7 separate regions of the Homo sapiens genome follow, and all the other regions are linked to region 2. The links are contacts of gene promoters, found by promoter capture Hi-C in blood cells and fetal thymus (Javierre and others, 2016). All regions are on one chromosome and are shown on one strand. Each heading gives the region's core, a stretch centred on a gene start or on the middle of the fragment in contact. The rest is flanking DNA. Distances are from core to core; before and after follow the strand shown.

What was found. Contacts are between HindIII fragments. The CHiCAGO score rates a contact against its expected background, and 5 or more counts as called.
Region 1: a fragment that was not itself captured here is called in contact with the fragment with the promoter of ABCB5 in region 2 in 15 of 17 cell types (M2 macrophages, M1 macrophages, M0 macrophages and 12 more); the score reaches 17.3 in M2 macrophages.
Region 3: a fragment that was not itself captured here is called in contact with the fragment with the promoter of ABCB5 in region 2 in 5 of 17 cell types (naive CD4 T cells, total B cells, M2 macrophages and 2 more); the score reaches 8.5 in naive CD4 T cells.
Region 4: a contact is called between a fragment that was not itself captured here and the fragment with the promoter of ABCB5 in region 2, in 16 of 17 cell types (total B cells, naive CD4 T cells, fetal thymus and 13 more). The highest score is 35.2, in total B cells.
Region 5: a contact is called between a fragment that was not itself captured here and the fragment with the promoter of ABCB5 in region 2, in 1 of 17 cell types (M1 macrophages). The highest score is 5.4, in M1 macrophages.
Region 6: a fragment that was not itself captured here is called in contact with the fragment with the promoter of ABCB5 in region 2 in 15 of 17 cell types (M2 macrophages, total B cells, M1 macrophages and 12 more); the score reaches 35.3 in M2 macrophages.
Region 7: a contact is called between a fragment that was not itself captured here and the fragment with the promoter of ABCB5 in region 2, in 1 of 17 cell types (total B cells). The highest score is 8.1, in total B cells.

What each region holds. Positions count from the first base shown.
Region 1 is chr7:19,731,219-19,733,918 of GRCh38, reverse strand. All of the region lies in intron 1 of TMEM196 (transmembrane protein 196), which reads left to right. All of the region lies in intron 1 of LOC107986774 (a long non-coding RNA gene), which reads right to left. Among named protein-coding and RNA genes, the nearest start is that of POLR1F, 24 kb to the right of the region's middle. The HindIII fragment of the contact is 2,102 bases long and covers 333-2,434 here.
Region 2 is chr7:20,614,397-20,617,096 of GRCh38, reverse strand. ABCB5 (ATP binding cassette subfamily B member 5) reads right to left here and starts at 1,430. Exons shown (of 28, transcript NM_001163941.2): 1 at 1,260-1,430. The HindIII fragment of the contact is 15,833 bases long and covers 1,358-2,700 here.
Region 3 is chr7:19,693,876-19,696,575 of GRCh38, reverse strand. POLR1F (RNA polymerase I subunit F) reads left to right here. Exons shown (of 4, transcript NM_001002926.2): 4 at 1-1,115. Among named protein-coding and RNA genes, the nearest start is that of MIR3146, 10 kb to the left of the region's middle. The HindIII fragment of the contact is 786 bases long and covers 958-1,743 here.
Region 4 is chr7:19,713,174-19,715,873 of GRCh38, reverse strand. No RefSeq gene overlaps it. Among named protein-coding and RNA genes, the nearest start is that of POLR1F, 5.5 kb to the right of the region's middle. The HindIII fragment of the contact is 2,662 bases long and covers 85-2,700 here.
Region 5 is chr7:19,810,796-19,813,495 of GRCh38, reverse strand. It overlaps LOC107986774 (a long non-coding RNA gene), which reads right to left. Exons shown (of 5, transcript XR_001745112.2): 2 at 2,147-2,251; 3 at 98-666. Among named protein-coding and RNA genes, the nearest start is that of TMEM196, 39 kb to the right of the region's middle. The HindIII fragment of the contact is 5,704 bases long and covers 1-2,700 here.
Region 6 is chr7:19,751,939-19,754,638 of GRCh38, reverse strand. All of the region lies in intron 1 of TMEM196 (transmembrane protein 196), which reads left to right. All of the region lies in intron 1 of LOC107986774 (a long non-coding RNA gene), which reads right to left. Among named protein-coding and RNA genes, the nearest start is that of TMEM196, 20 kb to the left of the region's middle. The HindIII fragment of the contact is 2,384 bases long and covers 108-2,491 here.
Region 7 is chr7:19,662,804-19,665,503 of GRCh38, reverse strand. The region is part of intron 4 of LOC105375180 (a long non-coding RNA gene); the gene reads right to left. Among named protein-coding and RNA genes, the nearest start is that of MIR3146, 41 kb to the left of the region's middle. The HindIII fragment of the contact is 3,247 bases long and covers 1-2,700 here.

The DNA.
Region 1 (2,700 bases), core at 134-2,633, 880 kb after region 2:
AAGGAGAAAGTGTTTTGTTGTTGTCAACCAGTTTCAGTTTAGGAAGTCCTTGTGCGCCTGATCTCAGGTGTGGGGCTTTCTCAGTATTCTGTACCTTCCTTCCTGAGACAATTAAACTTAGCCTTATATCTGGGGTTGATCTTGGGCGAGAGGCTCCTGCCTCTTCTCCAATGGTCAATGTCCTCTACTTCGTATAGGCATAGGATGCCAGGCCCAAGATGAATTCCTGCCTCTCCCTCTGTATTTTTTTTTTTTTTTAAAAAAGGATCTTCTACTTTTCCTCCAGTTAGAGTGGCAATCTATATTTGAATAGGCCCTGGAAATGAGAAGCTTTGCTACCCTTCTGCCAGAAGCCTAAGCCTTTTGCTTCATAAAAAAGAAGGTCTAGGGAAGGAGCAGGGCTTTACACCTCCCTCAACACAAACAAATGTGTGATGACCAGTGTCTCTTCCTCCCTTACTCTGCAACAGGTGACATAGTGTCAGACCTTTCTTGGAGAAGATTTCCCTCTTTGAATTGAAGTTATCTCATTGTCTTGGAATCTCAACCAGCTCTCTGATGGGCTCTAAAATATCATTTCCTTACTGTAAGAGTGGAAATGACATCTTTGCATCTTTCTGTGTCCTAAGCAAAAGCAGAAACCTCCAAGGACTTTACATAAAGAAAATCCACTCAAAGTGTAAAATACTGTCTTCATAATCATGTCATTTCGTCCAACACGTCACAATCTTAGTTTTCTATTGAATATAATCTAAATTGGAATCAAATGAAGTTCGCTTGGAGGATGAACTAATTTTATTTTATTGTGTAGCACTAGATGCCTTATCATTAGATTGCTACATTTATATCATTTCACAGTAAGATCAACGCAAATAATCCTCCCTGGATTTAAACATCCCATCTTCTCACAAATAAAATCATATTTTCTCATGGTTCAGGCTTTACACATATGCACATACATACAGCTATCAGCTTTACTTTTTTAGCTAATTTGTTTTTTACTTGCTTAATAATTGCCATGATGTGGGTAAGTGCTTTGCATCCTGGATAAAGTTATGTTGAACAAAAGAAAGTGTATTTTGAAATATTATAACAAATTCCTTTATAAAATAAGATGCATTTAATTTTAGAATGTAACACAATTGACTGATGTTCTTATTATTTTGATTACATCAGAAGTTATATCATAAATTAACAATGGTCTTGCAGTTGTAGGTGAGTAGGTATTCATTGAACACTTCTAGTTGGATTTGCTAGTATAACCTACACTGAACTAACACACACAAAAAAAAAAAACTCTAAAAATCACTTCCATTCCGTTTTTTTTTTTTTTGTTTTTTTTTTTTGAGATGGAGTCTTGATCTGTCACCCAGGCTGGAGTGCAGTGATGCGATCTCGGCTCACTGCAAGCTCCGCCTCCTGGGTTCAAGTGATTCTGCTGCCTCCCCCTCCAGAGTAGCTGCGACTACAGGTGACTGCAACCACGCCCGGCTAATTTTTGTATTTTTAGTAGAGACGGAGTTTCACCATATTGGCCAGGCTGGTCTCAAACTCCTGACCTTGTGATCCGCCCACCTCAGCCTCCCAACATGCTGGGGTTACAGGTGTGAGCCACCATGCCCAGCCCATTATTAAAAACAAATTAATTTAGACACTTAATAAAGTCTTAAATTAGATGTGTGATTTCTGACCTTGATGTGTTACCTTGAGCAAGTCACTAACTCTCTGGACCTCTCTGGACCATGTCCCCACGTGTAAACTTCGAGGGATTAATTAAATCATCTTTTAAGATCTCTTCCAGTATTATGACTTGTGGTAAATAAAGATAGCCAATGAAATAAAATATCAATTTACTACTTTGGGGGCCTCTTTTTCTCTTTTCTATAAACTGTGGTGGCTAAATTTCAACCAAGATCTTTTAGATCCTCCTCATAAATCCCATGATTTCATATACTTCCTGTTACATGTGTCCACTTTTTCTCAGGTTACAGCTTTTCTCTAGGACATGTGATTTTGGATACTCTAACAGAAGTAACAGTTGGAGAGTATTTACATTCATCTGCTGAAAGTAGAAAAAATATTGATTGATTCCTCCCCTACTCTCCCTTCCCTCTCCCAATCCTTGAATTCACATTTCTTAGCTCCATCCAATTGAAGTGAGATAATACAAAATAGCAAATTTATTGCCACCTAGATGTTCTAACCAAATGGTTGGATGGAGAACTCTGCTTATGCTCCTGACCACCTCTTGGGCTTTACTGTAAATGAATAATGGCAGTGTTTACAGATTTCAAAACAGATGCAAGGAACACAAAACTACACTGCTTTCAAATTCTTTTCGAATGAGTTCTGGATAAATGGGACTTTCAGGATGAAAATGGGGTAGTCAGGGAAACTTAAGGAGAAGAGTATGCTTGAGCTTTGATCTGAAGCTTGAAGCACTGAAAGGTACAGAATTGGTCCAAACTGGAATTTCTTGAGCACTGCCTTCAAAAATGTGAGATGAAATTAGTAACAGAAAGAGTCCATAAGAGGACATGATCATCTACACTTAGGACACAGTGGGTGGTGAGAAACGGTCACTCTGAAATAGCTTTTTAAGGCTACTGAAAATTATGCAAGTATTCAGGTTTTATAAAGTTCTGAGTTTCTATCTTCTCATGGTTTTATAATACTAAAAATATTTTATTAGATCTATTT
Region 2 (2,700 bases), core at 181-2,680:
AGTGGTCAGTTTTTGGTATATAATTAAAACAGGGTAATTTTATGAAGAGTAATGTGGTATTTATATACATCTGGTCAGAGAAAGCCCCTTGTAGAAGATAATGTTTAAGCTGCAATCTGAATTATAAAAGGAGGTTGCTATATAAAGATCAAAAAGACTATCCCAGGCAGAAGGAATACTATTTAGATAGTAGAGAAAAGTGCACTGAGACAAAGCGACACAAGGTCAAAGCAATTTGTGAGCCAGTTGGCAGGTCCTCACTGTATGGAAAGCTACAGGTTGACTATGATGGCTGCCCCCATGTTCCTCTCTGTTACCCAATGTTTCAAAAGGAAGATAAATTTAACTTGAAACTTGTCAAGTTTGAGATATTTGTGAGATAATCAGGTAGTAATATCCAGCACTAAGTAGATAACATGAGAGAAGAACTCTGAACATCTTAATTGCTCTACACAAAATCTATCAGTCAGCCAATTCTTACTTATTGACAGCTGTGTGGATGCTATCATGGCAAGTACTATGGAACATACAAGAAAATGTAAAAATAGACAGAATATTTTATTTATAAGGACTTTTGCCTTAAAAAATATTTCTAGGTTCATGTACCAAGATGGAAATCATAGGACAAAATACCCATGTGAGAAGAAATCATGAGATGCACTTAACGTTCAAGCATCCTTGGTAAGAATAATCTGACAAATAGCTAAGATATACTGGTTGGATGGAAAACATGGGATCTTTGGTTAGATGAAAGAAGATATGGCTGGGCGCAGTGGCTCATGCCTGTAATCCCAGCACTTTGGGAGGCCAAGGCGGCTGGATCATCTGAGGTCAGGAGTTCGAGACCAGCCTGTCCAACAAGGTGAAACCCCATCTCTACTAAAAATAAAAAAATTAGCTGGGCATGGTGCTGGGCACCTGCAATCCCAGCTACTCAGAAGGCTGAGCCAGGAAAATCTCTTGAACCCTGGAGGCGGAGGTTGCAGTGAGCCAACATCGTGCCACTGCACTCCAGCCTGGGTGACAGAGTGAGACCCTGTCACAGGGAAAGAAAGAAAGAAGATATGAATTGTATGGATGCTTTAAAATGACCAAAATAATAGTAGGATGATCATTTCTGACTATGAAAAAGTTTCATACACACACATTTTTGTTTCCATCTTTACCACAAACTATTCTTTCTAAGATGGAGAAGTGTTTTATATTCTTCACAAGCTTCAATTGTTTTCATAATCTCTAATACTTTTGCTTTGACTTACTTTAATTCCTTAGATGCTGTTTTGAGTGGGCCCCATCCAGTCAGTTGAAGTCCTTAAGAGAAAAGACTGAAGTCTTCTGAAGAGGATAGGATAAAGCTTTCAGATACAAGGTATCAATTTTTTGCCAGAATTTCCAGCCTTCTAGTCTGGCTTGTGGATTTTGGAAGTGCCAGTCACCACAATTACATGAGCGTGTTTTCTCTTTCTCTCTCTACATACACACACACACACACACACACACACACACACACACACGGCCTATTGATTCTATTTCTCTAGGGGAACCTAATATACCTGGCAAGACAGACGTTATGTGATGAATAGTACAAAGAGTGACTATTCTAGTATCTAAGAAGACTGAGGAAGAACATTGTGATCTAAAATGGTTTCGCCCACAGATGAGGATGGCCCTGAGGTTAGTTTCTGGAGGAAGGCTAAGGTTTCAGTAAGTAGAAAAATGTGGAGGAGGAACAAGGGCATAGTTTTAGGAATGCAAGGTGAATTATCTCATGGTAGAGAAATGAGAACGGTTTGGATAGGATGGACTGTTCATGCAGAAATGGAGAGAGAGATAAGGTACATACGATTGTAAAAGGCACTGAACCAATTTTTAGGACAACTTTTATAATTTTCTGGAATGAAAGAGACAAAGCCATTGGTATTTGGTACAATTAACCTGATTATTTGACATTACAGCCATGGATATACTGGAAGGACTTGGGGAAACACAAGATTTAAGTAGACTCATTAAAATCTAGTTTGATAGCAGTAAGTAAGACTATTTGAGAGGTATTTTTAAGGCGGTAGGTAGGTAAAGAGGACAAGGAAGAAGAAATAAAAAAAATATAAGTTCAGCGATCAAACTTTTAAAAGTTGTAACAAAAGAGTAGTAAAGATGGTAATAGAGAAGTTATGAGACAGAATTGGTTTTGGGGAAATGGTAACATTCAGTTTAAATATGCAAATTTGGGTTGATATTGGTGTCCAAGTGAAAATATCTGGCAAACAGATGTAAATGTGGCACTAATAATTAGGAAAATTGCCAACCTAGAGATAAACTTGCAATTGTCATATGCACAGAAGGAATAATTAATTTTGCTTTAAAAATCTCATGATGTCATCTAAATGCACAGAAGTGGTGTAATGTAGCTAAAAGTGTTACTTCTAGAGCAGAGCCATCCAACAGAACTTTCTGCAATAATTGAGATATTCTCCACACATCCAATATCCTAGCCGCTACACATATGTGGCTATTGAGCGCTTTTAATGTGCCTAGTGAGGGAGCTGAATTTTGAGTTTTATATAATTTTAATTAATTTATTTTATTTATTCAGCTTTAATATGTATAATTGACAAATACTATTGTCTATATTTAAGGTTTACAACATGATGATGTGATATACATATACATTGTGAAATGATTACTGCAATGAGCACATCC
Region 3 (2,700 bases), core at 101-2,600, 920 kb after region 2:
AAATGCTTAGTAAGTGTTCCCTTCACATTTTAAAATTTGAGTATACAATCATGTTTGACAATATAGAAATTTAATTTTTAGTGAAACAATTCTAAACCCCTTTTCCATAGACACAAGAAAGATGGCAAATTTATGCTATTCCTGGAAAAATACATTGTGGCTTAGCAAATAAGCAAGTTCCCACGTTACTTTTGTTTTGCTTCAAGTAATACTTCTGCCAGTTGTGTTTTATGAATTAAACAGGGAACGGCATGCTGAACTTGAAACTAGATTTGTTCCTGCTTTTTTCACAATGTGAGTAGTTTTGAAAAGTCAGATCTGGCCATTTGTCTTTCCTAGAATAGCATAACTTTGTTCATTGTTTTTTTTGTTTGTCTTTCTGACACAGAAAGACTGATGATGGTGTCCACTATGTATTCTTCAAAACATTTGGCACATGCTGCACTAACCTAGTCTATCTTTTCTATCTTGGAATTTGCTCATACAAACCCTATAGCCTAGACTAGATCCCTTACCCTCTCTCCAGTTCCTATCATTCACCCATTTCACTGTGCAAGACACCTCACTAGTCACCAGTGATACAGAAATGACTTTTAAGCAGTTTCTGCTCTTAAGGGCTTACCGTTTTGTCTATAAGATACACAAGTATAAATGACAAGTACAAATAACAATGAATGTTTAATGCTTTACGTTTAGTGTTTAAGCTTGTTGTTGGAAGAGCAGCATTTTGACCCTTGGAGAAGAAAAACTAGCTGTGGCATTCCAGGTGGAGAACCTGACAGAGGACTAAGAAGTTATCTAATGTAAAAGACCTCAGGCACCACCTTCGCATAAACTTTTTCCAGACAAGGCTAAATGTGCATGCTTCATAACCATAATTCTTATTTTTCTTTAATAAATATTTTTCTACTTGTAACACTGTGCATTATTTCAAACTGTTTACCTGTTTGTAAAGCTTGTCTCTTAATCAAATTTGTCTTGACCAAATAAGTTTCCTGAGGGCTGGAATTATGCCTTAACTATATCTATAGTATTTAACAGTGAATCCTTTGTATAATGAAAGCATCAACAGATAATTTTAAATTGATAAATAAAAAGCACAGTTTCAAATGGTATCACTTGGCCTCTGATGTGATATTATTATTTTCACTTGTTTCAATAAATGCATCTTTTTTTTTTTTTTTGGCCTATATGTAATGTGGTTTTTAAGCACTTTTATCACTTTAGTGTGTCAGGGATAGAATACTTAAAAATGACAGAAATTTGATCTCTTTTAATTTGTTTTATACATTCACCACATGGGTCATCTTTGCCTTTTTTTCTCAAAAAGTAGATATTTTGTTACAAAATCAATATATATTTGTTTAAAAATTCATATAGTAAAAGTATATACATCTTCCCACTCTACCAGTCATTGATCTCCCTCCCTATTCCTCCCCACACCACACACACCCACTTGGCAATTCTGCTTCCAGAAATAACCACTATTGTCAATTCCATGTGTAGTTTTAGAGATTTTTAAGTAGTGAATTTTAAAATGTTTTAAGACATGGAATCAAACTACCTGCACTTTTTGGGTCTACTCTATTTTATAGTAAATGTCTTCCCATATGAATATATAGAGGTCTTCCTATTTTTAATGTTTGCAGAATTTCAGTGTATAATTTATTTCATTTCCCAAGGATAGATATTTAGGTTTGTATTTTCCCTCTTAAAAGGGTATTGTTAACATTTCTAAAAGCTTTCATTGTTAGTTTAATTGCTTATTTCCAGCTGTATTGTACATTGTGACTTCCAAAGGTAAGCTCTGATTCCTACCTTTAGAAATGGAGGTATTTCAGGGGGCCAGTACATAGTTCAGTTTTAAAAAATATTCTTAAAAAATATTCTTTAGGCACTTGAAATGAATAGTTATTTTTTAAGTAGAAAAACACTTTTAAAATAGATTTTATATATCATACAGTGAGAACAAAATTGAAAAATAATGGATAATTCTGCACATTATGTGACTTTTTGTGGTATTTTTCCTGGACAATTCATGGAAAAGTTCAACCCATCTTCAACTCAGAATATCACTGGCTCTCCTTACTAAACATAAAGATCTTCAGATGTTTGGTCTAAACTCTTTTCTCATCCAAATCTCCGCTTTGGCAGTAGGAACTAACTTCATGGCATCATTTTGTCTTCTACTTCTTTGAAATAAATATTTGGTACACTGAATCACCTTAAAGCCCAGTTGTTTTATCTGAATGCTAGACTTGTTCCTACTTACTCACATTGATTTGATAACTCGTCCTGAATATGTTTGAAAATTTTTAGTAAGACAAAAATTTAGTAAGTTATAAAATTGGAGTAAATAGGGGGGAAAGGCAGAATCAACAAACCTAAGTCTACAACCAGGATTTCAATAGCAAATAAGCTGCAGTCTGTATAGTTGTAGGTAATTAGTTCCACATTCATTGGCTATAATTAGAAAATGCTCCGGCACTTATTGAGTCACAGAAAAACAAGGACACATGAAATACCTCGTCCATTCTTAGTAAACAGCTGGAAATAGAAGCTAAAAGCCGTCAAAGAGGACCATAATTTAGCATTTAAAAGTAGAATGCATTAGTAATTAAAATGACCTACAAATTTATGAGATTATGGACAAGAAAGAGCTAAATACAATGTATCTAATACAGGAGAGAAGTTCCTGCT
Region 4 (2,700 bases), core at 166-2,665, 900 kb after region 2:
TTTCTGGTTCTGTGATGCTGCCTTGATTTCAGTTTCTGGTCCCTGCACTTGAACCTGAGACTTCATCTCTCCAGTTGTCAAGCTTTGACAGCTACCTTCAGTCATTTCACTCTAGGCACTTGAGTTTGTTTAACAAAACTCCCTACTCCTGAATCAGCCAATTGAAATCCAGCTTTAGTCACTGAGGCAGCAGCAGCTAGTGAGAGAAGCGACTGTTTTAGTCACCTGGCCAGCAAGTATGTACACATATTGAAAATAGGAATTCAAAGAAAGGATTTCAGCCAACTGAAAGAAAACTTGAGCTCCATAAACCTTGAATATAAAGAGGATGGAAAATCTAGGAGGTCATTGGAGACAGGCAGAAAGCTGTAACAGAAACGGAAACAAGATCACTTTTCCCCTAGGCTTTATTGATAAGGTGCTTGGACCTGTAGGCTATAGAGAAAACTAATTTGGTCATGAAAAAAATTATGCCCTTATATTAAAGATATGTTCATTTCTGGTAGGCTCTGGTGTTTTTTTTGTCCTACTTTTAAACATCCAGTTTAGTCTATTCGACTGTGCCAAAGATTTCAGGAGAAAAGGTTTTTTTCAAGCGGAGTTAATACTGTCAGTATCACCCTAAAGCCAATATGGTACAAGAAAACAGGAATCACAACAAAGAATATCAAGGCAAAGTGAGACACAAAGAAATCGAGTAGCTTTCTTTTATTCATTAGTCTTTCATTTTATTCATTAGTCTATCCTACTCAGTGCAAATTTTGGACTTTCAGATATTTTACTAACAACTGTGGCCTTAAAGTAATGACTTAATTTGTAAATTCCTGCAGGGCATTTTTCACAACTGGGCAAGTTCACTTTGCCATTGGACAACGATAAATTCATAACTATAATAATTTCCAAAGCATAGGTGTATTAAGCACCCTGTAGCTGTAACGGGAAGTCTAGAATATGATACATTAATATAAATTGTGTTTGGGCACTTCAGAGTAAATTGTGTATCAAAAGGCACTGCATCTAAATTTCATTTTTTTAATTACCACCCTCAAACTTTCCGTACCACATTCTTCGGAACTATTTAATGTCAAGAATCTTGGAGTTCACATCTACACAGTTTCTGCAGTCAGCAAGTGCTTTATTAAACTACAGCATTAAAGTAATCTTCAAAATATAAAAAAGAAAACTGTTTTCTATTTCTATTCTGCACTGAGCAAAAGACAGGTGGAAGTAAATGAGAATTTCCACAGTCACCCTTGCAAGCATCACAGCCAATTGTATTAGCTTAATTCACTGGATTTGAAAAACTTGAAAGGAGGATGTTGAAATTTGATTGCAGAAAGGTCTGATTAGAGAGGAAATAGGGCTTAGAAGAAATACTAACACTAGTTTTTGTAAGAGGACAATAAATACAGATGGCATCTTGTCCTCCTAAAGTAGACTCACCCCCTTGAGATACCTTGTTTACCTCTTCCCAACCTCTAGAAGCAGTCATCAGTGCTCACATCTACATGTACGCAGACTCGTACACACTCACACACCTCAAATTTATTTTATTATTTAAGCTAATCCTTTCTAGCTGACATCTTTCATCCAAAGTGCTAGGCAGTTGCCTTCTTGGCTTTTACCTAGATAGATAATTGTAACATCAGGAGCTAAAAAATTGGCATGACTTTATTTAGGTCCATATTTCAAAGCTCAGGTTTAAACGATATGTGTGTGTGTGTGTGTGTGTGTGTGTGTGTGTGTGTGTGTGTGTGTGTATGTAATATAATGTGCTCTGTTAATATATTTCCTCATTCTCTTTAGGCACATGTGTATCATGTAGTGTCAACAATCTAACAAGCAAGTAGAAGGAGCCTTCAGAGTCAAAAATTTATCCTAAGTTCTCTGTTGAAGAAGGATTGTAGATAAAAACAAGCCATCAATAAAGTTTCCCTTCACTTTTGTCATTTCTACAGTCCTTAAGCTAAAGCAAAACTTTACAAATTTAAGCTCATTTTTGCCATCTGCTGGCAAATTTGTGAAACACAAGTGGTCTGCATCAACAAACATTTGGTTGATATACCCTGTATTATATATATTTCGGCTAAAACTGGTGCTTGTTTGACACCTTTCCAATCCTACTAAAATGTTAATATTTACCAATTTGGTCAAATATCTTACCTTAGCACTTTTCTAGGCAGAGACTAAATAAAATAAACCATCAATTTTTACAATTTCCTTCTTCATCAGTTTTTGATATAGACATAGAAAAAGTGAGGATCTTTAGTGATTCAAAGCATAAATTATGGGATAACTCATGCCTGGGTTAGATTCCTTTATTGATAAATCGCTGGGTATTCTTGGGAAAGTCATTGGTTCATTCACTCAAGGAGTATGCATTAGGCCCTGGGCATATGACTGTTAGCAATACAGAGAGGATAGCTACCATCATGAGGCTGACATTTCTTTTAGAATACAGGCTTCTCGCTTGTAAATATATGTCATTAGTGTAATCAATTCATAAAGATTATCTGTCAGTGATTTACCTAGGGCACTTGGCATAGCATCTGGCAGGTTTGTAGTAAAGTTTACCTGTGATAATGTTGGTCATTGTGATGTTGACACTCATCACTCATTCCACCAATTTGATATAAACAGTCATATAAGTGTGATTAAATCCTTCCTGTCAGTACTAGTATTGCTCTTTATCCAGGGTGG
Region 5 (2,700 bases), core at 188-2,687, 800 kb after region 2:
GGGAAAGGAAAAAGGAACTGCAATGACACGAAGTTGAGAATGTGGATACCGCCTCATTCACCCACACTCATTCTCAGACTGTAAAAAAATTCCTTACCTTCCTTCTAGCTGGCAGGCATACAGTACCACGTGGCAAAGATACAGAGAAGGTGGGCTTGAGACTCGGCTCCATCTTTCTCCTCAGTAGCAAAGGTCAGGCTGCCTTTTACAACAAAGCACCACAGCTGACACAACCCCTCCTCCTCTCCCAAACCAGTCATTCCAATTGGCTCCGGCCAGAAGGCAGAAAAGCTACTTCTAGCCTCTCCTGGGAAGAAATAGTTGTGTTTTTTGTTTGTTTGTTTGTTTTTTGTTTTTCTTAAATAAGTAACTCCATTGTTTTTCTCTTTTCCAAGATGGCTGATGTTCTGGTTTCTACGAAGTCGGTGCTTACTTAGGTCACTAACACCACTGCTGTTGGTGGCTGCAGCTGCTGCCGTGGCAGGATTTTCAATGTGGTCTGTTTTCAAGCATCACTCATTTATCCTCTCATTCCCAAACATTCAGCATCCTTGCACACTCCTCACTTATATTTTAGCTCACCTCTTCAGGGAGATTGTGTTCTTAATTGTGATGTGATTAGATTTTTTATTACAGTCTGCATTCCATCCTGGATCCCATGAATTCCTAAATAATTTTAATTAGAAACAACAAAAACAGATATATCAGCCTTGGCAACATAGAGAGACCTATCTCTACAAACGAATTTAAAAATTAGCCAGGTGTGGTGGCACATGCCTTAGCTACTCAAGAGGCTGAGGTGAGCAGATTGCTTAAGCCCAGGTGATCAAGGTTACAGTGAACTATGATCGTGCCACTGCACTTTAGCTTGGGTGACAGAGTGAGTGCCCATCTCTAAAATAAATAATTTTAAAATAATAAGGTAAAATAGAATTATGTACATTAAGGTATGATCTTGGTGCTGTAAAGTTGTATGAGTTTTGAAAAATGCACAGTTTCATATACCAACTGCTATAGTATAATTCCAAATACTTTTACCACCCCCAAATCGCCCATGTTTCACATATTAAACCCCGAGCTCCTCCTGCAGAACTTCTGACAATCACTGTTCTTTCTACTGTCTGTCTCTATAGTTTTGCTTTTTCCTAAATGTCACAAACTCGGAATCATATAGTATATATTCTTTTCTTACTGGGTTCTTTAAGTTTGAATATACATTTAAGGTTCATCTATATCATTTGTGACTTGATAGGCGTGATGATTAATTTTATGTGCTCACTTGACTGGGCCAGGGGGTATCCAGATATTTGGTCAAACATTATTTTAGATTTTAAGATGATATTAACATTTAAATAGGTAGACTGTAAATCAGGTTTCCCTCCCTAATATGAGTGGCCCTTATGGCAATCAGCTGAAGGCCTAAATAGAACTACAAGTCTGACTCTTCTATCAGTAAGAGGGAACTCCTCCTGCCTATAGTTAAAAACAGTCAATGCAAACAGCTGGAATGACAAAAACTGAATTGATAACCAAAACTCTTCATTAATGAAATGAAATAGTGTTAGCCAGATTGTGATGAGGTATATGATACCACGGTCCCCACATTCATGATGTGAGAGTTTGCTGAAGCCTCAAGCCCAAGCATCCAAGTTCAAAATTTGGAGTCTTCAGGAAACCTTCCCTCTCAGGTCTGGCTGCTATCTCATTAAGAAGATTTTAATTTATCTTGCTCATGTGAATACCATTCACCAGCTCTTCCTAAATTGGATATTAGCAGTTTCCTTAGTGCAGCAGAACTATTGTGCTGAGCAGAAAGAAGGAAATGCAAAATGTGAAGTTCAGAAACTAATTTTCAGTCTTGCCAATTGGGTCTCCAACTCCCACGACAGTAGTAACCATTTCTACACCTGGATGTCATTAAATTCATGTTGTTCTTCATGCCAAAATGAAATCAGAGCTTAACATGGACAGTAAACACCTGGGACAAAATTGCTGAAATGTTTTCACATAAGAAAAACCAAAAACAATCAAATAAAAACTGCCTATGGCCTTTGCTCTACTGCCAATACTTTTAATTCAGTAGGAAGAGGTAGGTTCTACCACTAAGATACTCTTCATTAAAATGAAAAGAAAATTAAATAACTACCTTATGAATTTGATCTATGTAGGCAGAGAATATTCTAGCTGAGTAATACCTTCAATGGCAGGGCAGAAACACTGTCCTTAATGTGTGTTTATTACCAACATTTACCTGGAAAAAATAGAATGTATATAAATGAGTATATTTTCCAGTTTTTCTCTCTCATTCTCTAAATGATGGTGTTCTCAATCAGGGGAAAAACTGTGTCTGGGGAAATACAAGAATCTTAAAAGTAAGTAGAGCCTGTTCTTTATGTTCAATAAAGTACATTCAAATTAAACAATTATAATTTTGAAAAAAAAACTATTGCTTTTTTAAATGCAGTAATGCTCAATAAAGCATACCCTATCCCCTTTACAGGAGGATATATCAAAATCTCCTGGGGGGAAAGCATAATATTTTTAGATCATAATAATATGCAGACAAGGGTTTAAAAAGATCTAAAATGTTTTACTGCAAAATATGGCTATTTCTAAATGGCACTTCTTTTCGTAATTAGACATATTACATTTTGCATGTTTTACAAGGACCTTCAACCTTTTAAAAGAACTATGGTCTAA
Region 6 (2,700 bases), core at 50-2,549, 860 kb after region 2:
TAGTTAGTTGACAAGCTTTTAGCCCATGACTACAGAAAAGAATTTCATCAAAACCTGCACTCTGGCAACAACACACTTCAAACAATGCTCACGATGTATTGCAAGCTTTCAGATTACTTGTAAAAGATTCCCATCTGTATTCTACTGATTAGAGTTGTAATTATAATATTAACATTTAATCATATTCTCTTTTTGGAAATTCTGATGATTTTTTTCATCTGCTTCCAGTGAATCAATTTGACAAATAATTATTGGGCTAACTTTGAATGAAGCACTTGGCTGAGAATTTGAATATAAATAATAGACTGGACTCTGGATCCAAGGGCTTTAGAGTTGTTAGAAGAAACATACCTGCAAACAATAATAGATAGCGAGCACTTGAATTCTTCCAAGTGACTTATACCTACAATTTTATTTAACATTTACAGCTATTCTATGAAGTGTACACTGTTATGCATCTCAGTAAAGAGGAAACTGTGGAAAAATAAGTAACTTTCTCAAAGCCACACAGCCAGAAAATGGGAGAGCCATGATGCAAACCCAGTCAGTATGACTCCAGAGTAGTCATTCCTTATCACTAAGCTACACTACCTCCTACTCAATCCACATAAATATAGTTCAATACACAATAAAGTGTATGCAAATCCTGTGGATGCACAAGGAAGGTGAAGAGGGTCATAGATGACTTCATGAAAGATGTGCCTTCGGTGGCAAACCTGGAAAAACAAAGTAGAGAGAGCTTGAAAAGAGAGGAGGAGAGATATTCCAAACTCGTGGAGGCAAGGCCTATGAGAGCTTGAGAATGGCCAAGAGAATGTTGGTTTCTAAGCACAGAATGAACAGAAAGAAGGGAGCTTGAAGAGGTAGGCTTGGTCCAACTATGAGGAACCTGAGTATTAGACTATAGGATTTGAAGCCTTCTTCTTTAGAAATGAACAGGTACAAAAAATGTTTGAGGATAAGGGAGACTAGAATCAATTTATTTTAAGAATAATCACCTAGGGAATAGTGTGAAGAATTAGAGGCAGGGGGATTGTGTATGCCTTTAATATTAAAATTAAGAGTCAGAATGAAGGGAACACCAAGAGCAATGGAATTACGTGAAAAATTATAGATGCAGATTCGACAAGACTTCATGGGAGTCACGCTTTTAAAAACATGGGTTGAAAAGATTGGCAATTAAGTCGGACTTTCTGCCTGGGTTAAAGAGAATGAACATGTGCTGAGATCAGAAAAACAAAAATGAAGGCAGGTTTGGGAAGGGGTAAGAAAATGAGTTTAGATAAATTGTACCTCTTTGATTTATTCTGAGTGGGAGTAGGGTGCTGGTGGTGGTTATAACATAGAATAAAAAATAGACTTCTCTTTAAAGTGCTTAAGGGGTAGTAACAGAGATAATAAGCATATAAATATTTATGAGTCAAAACGTAATAAGCCACATAAAAAAGGTACTCTGAGAATTAGGAGAAAAAGATGGGATTTTATCTGAGCAGAGAATTTCAGATGGACCCTGGAGAATAGTAAGAATAAGAATAAAACTGTCCAAGAAGAGAAGTAGAATATGCAAAAAGGGATAAACTGAGAGTGTACAGAATAATTTAAGTGCACTTTGGCTGTAGAAGATCCACAGTAGACCAGTTGTCAAATTGGCTTGGAACCATCCATTTGGGCCCTGATGCCAGGCCAAGAAATTTGGAGAGACATTGATTTTAAAAATTGAACAAAAAGGCCGGGCGGGTGGCTCATGCTTGTAATCCCAGCACTTTGGGAGGCTGAGGCAGGTGGATCACGAGGTCAGGAGTTCGAGACCAGCCTGACCAACATGGTGAAACCCTGTCTCTACTAAAAATACAAAAATTAGCCAGGCGTAGTTGTGCGCACCTGTAGTCCCAGCTACTCGGGAGGCTGAGGCAGGAGAATCGCTTGAATCTGGGAGGCGGAGGTTGCACTAAGCCAAGATCGGGCCACTGCACTCCAGCCTGGGTGACAGAGCGAGATTCCATCTCAAAAAAAGAAAGAAAGAAAGAAAGAAATACATAAAATTAAATTAAAAAAATTGAACGAGAAAATAAGGCACTAATAAGGTGCTAAAAATCATACTAGGAATGAACTTAGAGTGAGTGATATTAGAGAAACTAAAGGCAGAGGGACTCGCTCAAAAGCCCTTAAATAATCCTGTTAAGGGCTGGTGAGGCCTTGAATAAAAGCTAAATTTCACTGTGGATATAAAAGTAATGGCACACTGTAATTAATGTGATGAAAATGACGTAGGAGGAGAGGGGAATCAATAGTGTCTTTGAGTTTTGAGAGAACAGTAATAAGAGTAATAGACACAGGAAAAGTGGTGAGTGGAAACAGGATTGAGATTCATGTTTTGAGTCTGAAGCTGACAATGTAAGTCTAGATCTCTTTCATTAACTGCTGTGCATCTGGCTACATGCACACTGAATTGCAAAATGATTGTAGGCTGAGCCAAAACTAGACATAAGCTTTTATGATGACCAACATCTTATGTTATTCTTTAGTTTCTTGGAGCATCGACACAATCTGAATATAACATTATGCTTTAAAACATGACATTCAGAAACAAGTATGATTGGTAGCATTTCGAAGACTTCCTTTGGAGTAAATAGAAATTAATACACAATTATTTTCCAGAAGACAGTCCACTTACAATCCTTGAAATCTTGTTAATTGTAG
Region 7 (2,700 bases), core at 184-2,683, 950 kb after region 2:
CTTTGGGCAGTAAAATTTTGATCACTAAAGGATTCACCTGATAACTACTAAGGTATATTAAGAAAAAAAGCCATAAATATTGCATTCAATGGCCCTCAACAGAAGAAAGCAAATTTATTCCACTGTAGGGACTTTATGACATAAGTCTTGAAATGATATTTAACTTTCATATATCTTTTTCCTCAAAGGCAGGAGTGTCATAGCCTACTGTTTAGATAATTTACTTCTATTTTGTATATATGCATTAATTGTGATAATGTAGTCTGTGCTGAAGAGCATTCATTGAATTCCATTACATTGTTTTGAAATGACGGCTGTGCTACTGAATTGCTTTAGAATCATGCTGAAAACTTACCAGAACAAAATTTTTTATTGACACTAAATAATTTCTAGCTGAGGTACAGTCAAAGGAAATCCTTCAATTACTCGATGCTGCTTTTAATTCAGAGCAAGCAGATGATCTCCCCAGAAGCTAAGGCTACTTGCAGGAATTTTTATGGATTTAACGGTCATGAGATTACATCTCTCTGACATCTCTCTGCCTTACCACTCTTGTTTGTAACTCTACAGGCTAATGGCAGGGGCTATGATAGGTAGCAACATAGATATAACAGAATCACAAATGACAGTTATTTATGAATGTGAAGAATGCATGCTTAAATAGTATCCAGTGGCTCACCTCTCAGACCTCTATGAGAAGACAAATGAAATGTTTGAAGTGCTGCACATGACTTAGACCAAAATGTCTCATATTCTCATTCAGACATATCTATTTTTTAAAAAAAATTTCAACTTTTGAACATTGGATGAAGAAGTAAAAAAGAAAAAGAGGATTTTTCCTAGCTCCTCAGCCCACCCCCAGCATGTATACAAAGCTAAGATTAAGACAGTAAAAAGACAAATTCTAATTTGGAAAGGTAAGGATGACATTTAAAGCCATTATTTCAAAATCAAAGAGATGTTTAATTTTTCTTTTTATAATTGCTGAATAGTAAGACACCAAACAGTTTATGTTTAGACCAAATTGTACTTTTTCACTGATGTGCAGTTCAAATAACATACAGTAAACCATTTTAAGTTGTACAATGCAGTGGCATTTAGTGTATTTGAAATGTTTTGCAACTACTTCCTCTTTCATTTTCAAAACATTACCACCTCAAAAAACACCTTGTAGCCATTACATGATCACTCAATATTCTCTGCTTTCTCTGTCCCCTAGCAACCAGAAATCTGCTTTCTGTCTGCACGAATTTGCCTCTTCTGTATATTCCATTAAAAAGACATAATATATAACCTTTCAAATCTGGCTTCTTTCATTTAGCATAATGTTTTCAAGGTTCATGCATGTTATAGCATGTGCCAGAATTTCATTCCTTTAAGGCTGAATAATATTCTATTGTATGTATATTACCACATTTTGTTTACATTCGTCTGCTAATGGACATTTGGCTTGCTTCCACCTTTTGTCTATTGTAAATAATGTGGCAATGAACATCGGCAAACAAAAACCTGTATCCTAGAAGTGGAATTGCTAGATCATATAGTAATGTTATATTTAGATTTTTGAGGAGCAGCCAAATCGTTTTGTACAATGGTTGCTTCATTTTACATGTCTACCAGGAATGTATGAGGATCCCAATATCTCTGTATCTTTGTCAATACTTATCTTCTGTTAAACAATTATATAATTCCTAATAGTTGTGAAGTGGTATCTCATTATGGTTTTGTGTTTTCTTAATGACTAATTATGTTGAACGTCGTTTCATGTGCTATTGGTCATTTGTATTCTTCCTTGAAGAAATGTCTGTTCAAGTCCTTTGTTCTGTTTTTAATTAGATTGTCTTTTTGTTGCTGAGTGTTAGGAATTCTTTGCATATACTGGATATTAAACCCTAATCAGATATGATTTGCAAATATTTTCTCCAATTCCGGAGGTTGTCTTTTCACTTTCTTGGAACTGTCCTTTGATGCACACAATTTTTTATTTTTATGAAATCCAACTTATCTTTTGTTGTTGTTGTTACTTGTGCTCTTGGTGTTAAATCTATGAATTCATTGCCAATTAGAAGTCATCAATTATTACTCCCAATGTTTTCTTCTAATAGTTTTAGAGTTTTGACTCTTGCATTTTGGTTGTTTTTCCATTTTGAGTTTGCATATGAAGTAAGGTAGGAGTCTAACTTAATTCTATAACATGTGGTTGCCCTGTTGTCTCATCACGTTATGGCAAGGAACTATTCTTTCCTCATTGAATGATCTTGGCACCTTTGTTAAAAATCAATTGTCCATAGATGTTCAGGTTTTCTTTGGGACTTTCAATTCTAGTCCATTGATGTAGATTTGTATCCTTATGCCAGTATCACATTGTTTTGAATACTGTAACTTTGTAGTAAGTTTTAAATCAGGAAGTGTGAATTCTTCAAGTCTGTTTTTCCCTTTATATATCATTTTGGCTATTTGGGGGTCCCTTGAAATTTCATGTGATTTTTGGAACTGGCTTTTCCATTTCTGCAAAAAAAAGGCAATAGGAATTTTGATAGAGATTGCATTGAATCTCTGTATCACTTTGTGGATATCTGTTGCCATCTTAACTGAATTAAGTCTTTCAGTCCATGAACACAGGGTGTCTTTCCATTTATTTAGGTCTTTAATTTCTTTCAGGAATATTTTGTCATTTTCAGTATATAAATCTTGCACCCC